Linked DNA regions of Homo sapiens: all the other regions are linked to region 1. Evidence: promoter capture Hi-C in 16 types of primary human blood cells and fetal thymus (Javierre and others, 2016). All regions are on one chromosome and are shown on one strand. Each heading gives the region's core, a stretch centred on a gene start or on the middle of the fragment in contact. The rest is flanking DNA. Distances are from core to core; before and after follow the strand shown. Region 1 holds the start of TBC1D22B (TBC1 domain family member 22B). Region 2 holds the start of CPNE5 (copine 5). Region 3 overlaps C6orf89 (chromosome 6 open reading frame 89).

Region 1 (3,244 bases), core at 505-3,004:
TAAGAAAAAGGAGTATTTTGAGATATGTCTAGATACACAAATCATACTTTGCTTTCCACATAGTAAAATGTCAAATCAATAGGGAGCAGCTTCTGGAACATCTCTAAAGCCATGTGCATAAGCTGGAAAGTGGCAGGTATCTTGTCACATGGATGAGTGTATGGCAGCTCACATAGGGAAAGACAATTCAGAGGATACCTTTAAGACAATGAACTCTGAACTGCTGGTTGCCACCAAGGTAAGGAATCTAGAAGTTGTTTTAGATTACTCTTTCAAGACATCAACTCTTCTAAAGTCCAAACAGCCAGCAAAAGGTCTGGCTGTCCAGAATAAAGACAAAACATCAGCCTTAACAAAGCCTCAGTACATCCCTCTTTGGGCTTAGTGTGCAGTGCTGGTCACTGCATCCTAAGAAAAAGAAGCGCCAGAGAAAGGCAAGTAAAATAATTAAAAGAATAGAGGGGCTTTTTTTCTCTGGGTTAAATGCCCATAAAGAAGATAAGATGCTTTTATAGCATGAAAGACTCAGAGGAAGTAAAAATAGCCCTTGTCATCCAATCCTATAATTCTTAAATTAGGGGACAAAAGAAGCTTGAAAATGGGAGTAATGAAGAAACCGTCGTTGGAGGACATATAAAAGAAGGTCCTTCTTTGGCTGGGGCCAGGGGTCAGGTCTTTAAGTATTCTCCAATATGTGGAAGTACATGTGGTAGCTGTAAATGGAGGGTGGGGGTGGGGGTGGGGGACACGCAGCCCACCTCAACAGTCCTTCGAAGGGACAAAAACCACTCTGGACTGGTGCCCGCCTTCCCTCTTTCCCCAAATCACCACGGAATACAACCACAGAAACTCAAAACCAGCAAAAAACGCTGACAAGACATTCAAAGGATTCAAAATGCTAATACTAAATCTCATTGTCTGGGAAAATTAGATTGAAAATAAATTCAAGGGTGCAAGATTTATAATAGATTAACAAGGGAAATTAAGGATGTTGGTGGGGCCGGGAGGAGATACATCCTTAACTTTGTGATTCACACGATGGAGCAATACTGTGTCCTTCAAAGAAATGGTATTTGGTAATCTGAGTTGGACAGCTATCATAAACCATTTCCTATATACACTGTTAGCATAGTCAGAAAGTGAGAGTTATGGATTGACATAGGGATTAGATCATTTGAATTTTTAACCCACAGCACAAGTCCTTCAATCGTTTTCAATAAACAGAGGGAGAGGGAGACTCTGATGAACCGTTGCTCACGTGTTGAACAGTTAGCAATCCCGGGCTATCGGGTCCCTGCTGACCTTCCTTCAGAAAAACGAATGGACATGTAAACGGAATGAGGAAAGGAGGGTAATAACCAGAGTGTCATTGAATTGAGAGATGTTAAAAATGGGCCACAACCAACACATGGGCCCTTACTTTTAGGTGAAAGATTCCTATATATAAATACATAGTATGTTCTCTCTTGCCAAGAAATATTAGACTAAGGAACTTCATTCCTCACGAAGAAGATAATCCCCTCTTCCTTCCCATAGGTCCCTTACCTTACCTGCTTCTTCCCTCTCGCGGGTAGGAACTTTGAGCCCCGCCTCTCGGCTCGTCCAAGCTCCGCCTTCCCCGTCCACCTGTGTGCCCAGCCCCTGACGTTACCGGTCGGCTTCAGCGGCCTGCAGGATTCCGGCTCCCAATTGGTCGGCCCGTCCACGGCTTGCGCAGCTCACCAATGGCAGCGGTGCTGGGTGGAGGGGTGCCCACATCCAAGATGGCGTCCCCAGGAGCTGGGAGCGGGTGACCGGCGGCGGGGAAGCGGCCTGGGTTGGCCCTCAGATTGCGGGGTCTGGGGGCATCTCGCCGGGCAAACCCTTGGCCCGCCTACAAGGACTTCCCCCGGCCAGAGCAATGGCCGCTGAGAACAGCAAGCAGTTTTGGAAGAGGAGCGCTAAGCTGCCGGGGAGGTGAGCCCAGGACGCTGAGAGGGATAGGGGATTGGACCAAACCCTTCCAGATCCTAATCCCTGAATCCCGCGGGCCTGGGGCGCCACAGAGGCCAGAAGACTGGTTTGGGGAAGCTGGGACTGCCTGGTGGCGGCAGGGCAGCTGTCAGGCAGCGAAGCGAACAGCGAGCTTTGGGGACGGCTGGATGTGGGTGTAGACCGGGGTCTGGGGGCGGAGGTTTCAGGAGGGGTGACCTCAGCGGGAAGGTGGCCGAAGATTGGGCGTAAAGGGGAGTGGAGTTGGGTGAATAGTCAGTGTCGGCCCTGGTCTCGGAAGTTCCTCCCCAGAGCTGCTTCCCACTCTAATTAGGACTCCCTCTCAGGGGTCTCCACCACGCACAGGTGGTTGGTCGCTCGAGGATGGCCCCTTCCCTTGATCCCTGAGGTCGGCACTTACCCGAAGGATTCCGGTGGGAGTTTGGGGCCGCCTGCCGAGAGGGTTAGGCAGGAAAAGTGAGGACGATTCTCAACCCTGACCTTACTTTATCTTGAGTTGGCCCTTTCCCACTAGGAATTATTACAAGACGACCACAGAATCAGGGTTATTCCTTTGGCATTTTCTAAGGATTTGTCCAACCCCAAGTGACTTCTTCCTCCCCTGCATTGTAATGCACTTCTTGTGCAAATGCACTAAATTCGTTCATTCTTCAGTTGTTTAACTGGAGAGCAGACCCCCTAAGACTACCCCCACCCTCTTTTCGGTGTATGTTGAGACTTTTGGCAAATTATCCATCCATCAATCTACTGTTGGTTTACTGTTTCAGTTTATTTTGGGCAAAGTCCTGAGAAGTATAAGGAAGAGTGTGTATTTCAGTCGTAAATTTAAGATTTCTGCCAGCTACAGTCTACTTGGTGATGAAATTCATGTTTGGTTGTGTCCCCTGTGCTACCTTTTCTAATGGATTCAGGTTTTTTCCTTCTGGGATAATCTTTTGAACTCGTGACTTTTTTTTTTTAAGCGAGAGAGAGATGAGGGTCAGTAGTGGCTAGGTAAGAGCCTTAATTTTTTTTTTTTTTTTAAATGAAATAGAGACAAGGTCTGACTGTGTTGCCAGGGCTGGTCTCTGACTCCTGGCCTCAAGTGATCCTCTTGCCTTGGCCTCCCAAAGTGTTGGGATTACAGGCGTTAGCCACCATGCCCCACCAAGAGTCTTATTTTATTAAGGATTCTAGTAGACATATGGAGAATAGGGTGGAAATCAGCTTTTAGTAATACTTATTAAAGTAATAGAAAGGAATGCAAAGATAA
Region 2 (3,244 bases), core at 404-2,903, 420 kb before region 1:
ACAACTGAAGATGACAGGCATGATTGAAGGCTGGGAGGGAGTGCCAGGCGCAGGGATGTGCGTGCAGGAGAAGGGTGGGGAGGCCGTGCTGCTTTTGATGGCTGAGGAGGTGAGACTGGAGCTAATGGGCCATCAGGAATCTCCCAGCAGAGTAATGACAAGATGCAAATGGCGTTGGGAGATGATCCTGACGGCATGGTGTATGGGACCTGGGAGCTATCACAGGAGCCCCCAGAGGGCCTGGCTTAGGGGGGAAGCTACGTTCAACCAGACTAGCCTTCACTGCCACTTATCCCCAAGTCTTCAAGAGAAAGTCACACTGAGTCCTTCCCTCCTTCACGCCCCTGCCCAGACTCTCCAGCTCTACCTACACCTCATCAATGCCACAACTTTGTAATACAGGACTGGGGGGCAACAAGGTTACCTCTCATGGAGGGTCTGACCAAGGAGCAACCTGGAAGAGGATGAGATGGGTGATTTCGAACAAGGGCACAGCCAGGGCTCCAGAAATGCTGTCGGTGATCTGGGGCAGGGGGCATGGCCTCTGTGGGGGAACCTCAAAGTGGGTGATGCTTGCGTGGCAGCACATGATCCTAGGCCAGCCACAGAGAGACTGAACTAGGGAAAAATCCCCCTTTGCCACCCATACCCTCTTACTGCCAGGGGCAGCCTTCCCCTAGCTAGGAGAACCTGGGGTCGACCCAGCTCTTAGACAGAGAAGTTACCCCCAAACCCTGTGTGACATGAGTGAAGATTTGGGCGTGGTAGCCCACAAAAATATTCCCCCTCCTCCTCTGTTGGACTCTACAGTTTCACAATCAGTGTTCTATTCCTTTGGCTTAAGATTTTTGACCCAAGTTATTTTTTTAATGGTGCCACTTTAAGTTGTTATCATGTATCCACACCTTAGTATGAATGAGTCAATCTGATCCTTTTCCAGGAGTCGATTTCGTTGTTGATAGAGATGAAGGAAGGCTTTAAAATCCTAGAGTCTAGGACAGTGGGGTGGGGGAGACTGGTGAGGGGAGGATCAGGATGCTGGGGCAAAGAAGGGGCAAAGAGAGAAGAGAGGAGGGCACAGAAGGGAGAGGGTGGACGAGCCTGGGAGGGATGGGGGCAAATCACTCACTTCGTGATTTGGGGATGGGGTGATCAGAGATAGCCTGAGCAGAGACCGTAGTACAGCCTTTTACCAACTCCCTCTCCCCACTTGGGTGCCTGGACCCCCTGTTCCTGTGTCTTCATATCTCCTCGATGCAACAGCCTGGAGCGCAAACTTTCTGGGATATGACCCCAGCCTGGCTTCCTATTCTGCCGTCGCCACCCGCAGCTGGACAGGACAGGGGCTCTTGGCAGATCGGCAGGGGCGCAGTCCTGGAGACCAGGACACTCTGGGAAGGGGGCGCGCGGAGGTTTAGGATCGAAGCGGCAGGGGCCGCGGGGCTCTGCGTCCAGGGCCGGGGCAAGGGGACCCGGCCAGCGGGAGGCTCACCTGCAGGACACGGTGATCTCCACCTTGGTGGCCGGGATGCTGCCCGCCAAGGAGTCGAACTCGCTCAGCGACGCCATGTCCTCAGGCTGCTCCATCGCCCACCGCACCCCCCACCCCAAATTAGTCAATCCCTGCGCGATTCACGCCTCCTCCGGAGCGACTGGAGCCCTGGGCTCTCCCCCAACTCCAGAGCCTGGGCTGGGCGGCAAGGGGAGGAGAGAGGAGCGCGAAGAGGGGGCGTGGGAAGTGAGAGAGGGAAGAGGGCGGAGGGAGCGGGGGCCGCGGATCGAGGAGGGGGCTCGGGTGACGCCGCGAGGAGGCTAGGGGCCCAGTGGGGAAGGGCAAGGAGCCCAGGGAGCGGGGGCACAGCGGGGAAGGCAGAGAGGGGCGCGGGGAGAGGGGCTCGGGGAGAGGGCACCGGGAGGGAAACGCGGAGTCGTGGAGAGGGGCACCAGGAGAGGGACGCGCGTCTGTGGGCAGAGGTAGAGGGGATGCAGAAGACAGGGAGAGGGGCGTGAGGAGCGGGAGGCGCCGGATGGGGCGCTGGCGGCGGGGGTGGCGGGGCGCCGGCAGCGCGGAGCCCGAGCGCCCGGGCTGCGCCGCCTCTCCCTGGGTCTTGGCGCCGGCGGCGACGGGGCTGAGACGCGGCTGCGAGCGCCACCTCCTCGGCTCGGGCTTCGGCTCCGGGGCGCCCGGGCTGCGGGAAAATCAAATCTGCCCGAAGCCGCAGCCTCCCGCCGCCCGGGAACGCCAGAGGGGGCGCCCGCAGGGGCCGGGGCGGGGCCGCGGGCGGGGTCTGCGCGCAGGGTGAGTGTGAGCGTGTGTGTGTGCGCGTGTGTGTGTGTGTGCGCGCGTGGCGGGCCGGGGGACGCGGTCCAGATGCTGGGGACGTGGCGGGTGACAGCAAGAGGTGGTCCTGGTCGCGCGCATCTTCATTTGCGCCCGCCCCCTCTCACCACCCCTATCTCCCATCAGGGGTCTCCATCCTGGGGGAGGGGGAGGGTTATGGGAACCAACGGGCGCCTTTTTGAGAAAGGTCTATGCAGGGTTGAGAGGGGGCATAAGTGGGAGGGAGGTGTGCAAAAAAGATCCCCTCCCAGGGGCTTGGGTGTGGAGGGTCTCTGCTGAGTGTGCGCCCTACTCGGGGGCGGGTCTCAGTTCAGAAACAGACCCTACATCTCCTTCTGGGGAGGTGTGTGGGGGCGACCCCAGTGCCAGGAGGGACTACCTCGGTTTCCCAGTGGCCCAGGTGGGGTCGGTGCATGGGCGCCTCCCCCATCCGTGGTTCCCGCCAGCCGCGGCCTCGCCAAGTCGGCTGCCGAAACCACGCGCCAGCGCCCTTCCACTCCCCCGCCCGTCGTGACCACACGACTGAGCCAGCCTCCAGGTCTAGAAGCTCCTGCCACCCAGTCTGGTGGCAACCAGACTGGGAGATCGGCCCGAGCTCCCTGGGCTTCTATGCAGCCAGCACCGAGTAGGCGCGTGCTGTGTGCCTGGCGAGCGAGGGGAGAGTTGGGACACCTCTCCTGCAGTCCTCTTCCCAGCCAAGCCCCTCGCGATCCCCCGCCCTAGCCCAGCCTTGCCCTCCCGGGCATGAGGTTGCAGCGCAGAGGCGTCTCCCTGAGTAAGGCTGCACACGTAGACTTGACTCTAGCCCATCCTCAGCCTCAGCCTAAGCTTTGCCGAGCTGGAACCTCCACTTCCTCGCCCACCGCCTGGCACATCGAAGCCGATGTGCCTCGGGCCGGCGGG
Region 3 (3,244 bases), core at 339-2,838, 350 kb before region 1:
CTTCGCCTCTGATGTGAGTAGTCTGTAGCTGTGCAGTAGACCTGAAGAGTCTAGCTTTAAGTCTGATGTTGGAGTTCTACCACTGTCTCTCTCGGATCATCAGTTACTTTCTCTTAACTCCCTAGTCCCTGAAGAGACAATATTCTTTCTGGCTGTTCCAAAGATAAGTGGTCTTCCAAGCTTCTGACCCTTTAGAATTTTCCCGACCTGGTGTTGTCTTAGACATTCAGCCCAGTTCATCCTCCCTAGTCTGCACCCTGACATTCAGCCCAGTTCATCCTCCCTAGTCTGCACCCTTATGGATAATATTTGACTGACTTAATCCTTCCTCTTACTGACCCAGAGTTTTCTCTTTACATTCACATTCTTACTGCTTTTCTCCCCTCCTGGCTTCATATCTTTATAGTCACTTTACTCCTGCCGGCCATCCCCTTGGTTTTTACCATTTCCATGGAATCATTGAGTCTTAAAGCCAGAAAAGAATTTTAGAGTTAATCTAGTACATACCCCATTTTATAAAAGAGGTAACTGAGGCCAGGAGAGGTAAAGGAGCTTGCTTACCCAGCTAAAAGTGGCAAAATCACACTTGAACCCTAGTTTCTTAACTCCCTCTAGCATTCTGTCCAAGATATCACACTTACAGCCTGCCATCTCTGCCCTCAGTCAAGCCAGGCGCTAGCATGTTCAGCCAATTATTTTTTTTACTTTGGTCATTTTCTGGCCAACTTAAAAATAACATATTCATTTCTACTGAGGAAGCCTGGGATAGTTCTCACATACAGTGAAAAGGCACACATTTGGAACTCGATGCATCCCGTAACCTTCAAAGGAAGGATGAAGTAGATCCAGCAACATCAAGAAGTTTTGGAAATAGCAAATCATTTATTGGCCTCAAACTAAGAATCTAGTAAGACTTAGAGAGTCCAGATCTGTGCTCAAAGATGAACTGCTTAGACCGCAAGGAAAACCTTCCTCTTTTATTTGCAAAATAAGCTTACCTTCTGTGATAATAACAGCTCTGTCAAGCACTTACTGTATACCAGGTACTGTGCCGTGCAGTTTATTTCTCAGTCTTCACAGCAGTCACATAAGGTAGATACTGTTTTTATGTTCATTTCAAAGATGAGGAAACTGATGTGCAAGGGGATTGACTGACTTATCTGAAGTCTCACATTTATTTATTTTTAATTTTTTCTTTTGCTGTGTTTTTGATAATAAATTTTCACATTTAGAAACAAATTTTTGTACAAGTGAGAACTCATGAAAATAGACTTTCTCTGTGGTTTGGAGTGGTTCAAATGCATTGCTTCCTGGAGGCAAGGCTGTTGGTGAAATGATTTCTTGGGCTCTTTCCCTCTACGGTGTGTGAAAATGGCTCTGGGCATGGTGCCACACATGCAGGGACCTGGCAGAAGCCTCCTTCATTGTCAAGGCTTCACCCCTGCCTCATGCCCGGGGTACTAGAAGAGGTGCTATGCACAAACAAGCTTCTGGAGAGCAGCCTGATTAAATATTGAGCACACACTAGTGAAAGTCATGGGAACTTTGTCATGGGCTTTGCAGGGTTTTCTTGGCTATATTTATAATGCAAGAAATGATGAAGTTATATTTATTTAATCTTTATTTTGAGGTTTCTGTGAATCCAGATTGCTCATTTGATTTTTCTCCCCATGGACTTAATTCTATTGTTAAAGCTTCTGAAAAATCAGCCTTCCTGCCTGCCTTCCTGCCTTCCTCCCTCCTTCTTTTCCTCCTTCCATCCCTTCCTCCCTCTCCCCAACTTCATTCACTCATTCAGTAAATGTTTATTGAGACCCTGCTATATATGCCAGGCACTGTTCTCAACAAAGCAGTGAACAAAACAGACAAAACCACTGCTCTTGTAGAGCTAGTATTGGCTTTGTTCTTTTCTTTCTTCCCTATCCTTTTTATCCAGAGGGAGTTTTTTGTCCTGGAAAGAAATCTTTTGTTTTGTTTTGTTTTGTTTTGTTTTGTTTTGTTTTTGCCAGGTAAATAATCTATGTAACAGTACTCTCCCCACTCAGAATTCCAGGATATGTTATGGTTGTCTACAGAGAACCAGCCTAAGTGAGTTTTCTTGTAAATAACTCTCAGGCACCAGGAAGCTCCCTGATGGGTGAGACGCTGGCCCATCCATTTTTCTGCCCAGTGCCCAACTTGTAAAGAAGGGTGGATAGTTATGGTCTCTGCACGTTGACTTCAAGGCTGTGTTTTGTCTGAGAGACTGTTTTTGACATCTCCAACAGTGAAATCATTCCAAATCATAGTGAAAACTTGAAATACAAGTTATAAGCTTTATTGAACTTTTATATGTAGGATTTCTCTTCTCTGTCATACCTTTAAAAAATGTTTAAAATATCTGGTATGAGGGATATCTGGAGTAAAGAAGCCTTAGAAATTAAAAGTAGGAAGTTGCTATATAATTTACGCTGACTTTTCTGTCTGGTGCTTCAGGAAAAGTGGTTAGAAACAGGAGGGCTGGAAAGAAGTGAGATGCAGCATATTAGGTAGTCAAAAGCCGTAAACTAGGGTGGCATGGGCTCGGCTGGCTGTGTGCTGTTGGCTGTTTCCCAGGATGGAATTTTGTTCACTTTGTGGCATGATGGCTCCAGCCAGTTGTATAGAGAACACGTCAGACAAAACCTTTTCAGATGGACAGAGGCCAAGCTGGAGTCTGGCCACATCTCTTTCTGTTGTCAGGGACTCTGTGGGGAGAGGAAGAGGAGCCTGCACCCTACCTCCACCCCTAGTTCACCGTTTGCCCGTTCCTCTCTCTAAGCTTATGCTTTATCCACCTTGGTGATCTCAGGCTACAGAGAAATCAAAAGTAGTTCTTTCTTTTAAAGTTTGGGCTCCCTTAGTTCAGGTGGATGGCATAGGCTACCCCATTCCAGTGATCCTTTTTTCTTGTTACTTCCCTTCCTTCTTTGCGGGCCACCAGCCTGGCCACCTCTGCTCCTGTCAGATACCTCTCTGGGGCCAGCCTTCTGAGATGATTTACCTCTACACTTCAGCATTGAATTCTCAGCTTCAGTTTTCATGATCTCCAAGGACATTTTGACTTGGAAAGTACATAAAATACATGCATACAAAGACAGTAAGAGGTGTAATATTTTGATATTTAAAAATACTTATAATAAAGTAATATTTCTCATCTCTATCCTTTTAACTTTTCTACTCAAGCAACTGCTAATAATAACTTGGTATACATCCTTCTGAGTTT

Evidence for each region. Contacts are between HindIII fragments. The CHiCAGO score rates a contact against its expected background, and 5 or more counts as called.
Region 2: the fragment with the promoter of CPNE5 here is called in contact with the fragment with the promoter of TBC1D22B in region 1 in 1 of 17 cell types (total CD4 T cells); the score reaches 6.1 in total CD4 T cells.
Region 3: a fragment that was not itself captured here is called in contact with the fragment with the promoter of TBC1D22B in region 1 in 1 of 17 cell types (activated CD4 T cells); the score reaches 5.1 in activated CD4 T cells.

Annotation. Positions count from the first base shown.
Region 1 is chr6:37,256,018-37,259,261 of GRCh38, forward strand. TBC1D22B (TBC1 domain family member 22B) reads left to right here and starts at 1,755. Exons shown (of 13, transcript NM_017772.4): 1 at 1,755-1,956. The coding sequence starts at 1,901. TMEM217B (transmembrane protein 217B) reads right to left here and starts at 2,127. Exons shown (of 2, transcript NM_001395378.1): 1 at 1,551-2,127. It overlaps TMEM217 (transmembrane protein 217), which reads right to left and starts at 2,127. Exons shown (of 3, transcript NM_001286401.2): 1 at 1,551-2,127. RefSeq lists a silencer at 1,586-1,715 and enhancers at 1,816-1,875, 1,976-2,035, 2,122-2,757. The HindIII fragment of the contact is 5,135 bases long and covers 590-3,244 here.
Region 2 is chr6:36,837,791-36,841,034 of GRCh38, forward strand. CPNE5 (copine 5) reads right to left here and starts at 1,654. Exons shown (of 21, transcript NM_020939.2): 1 at 1,493-1,654. The coding sequence starts at 1,587. RefSeq lists a silencer at 2,118-2,327 and an enhancer at 3,012-3,244. The HindIII fragment of the contact is 11,867 bases long and covers 1-3,167 here.
Region 3 is chr6:36,905,312-36,908,555 of GRCh38, forward strand. All of the region lies in intron 4 of C6orf89 (chromosome 6 open reading frame 89), which reads left to right. Among named protein-coding and RNA genes, the nearest start is that of C6orf89, 21 kb to the left of the region's middle. The HindIII fragment of the contact is 207 bases long and covers 1,486-1,692 here.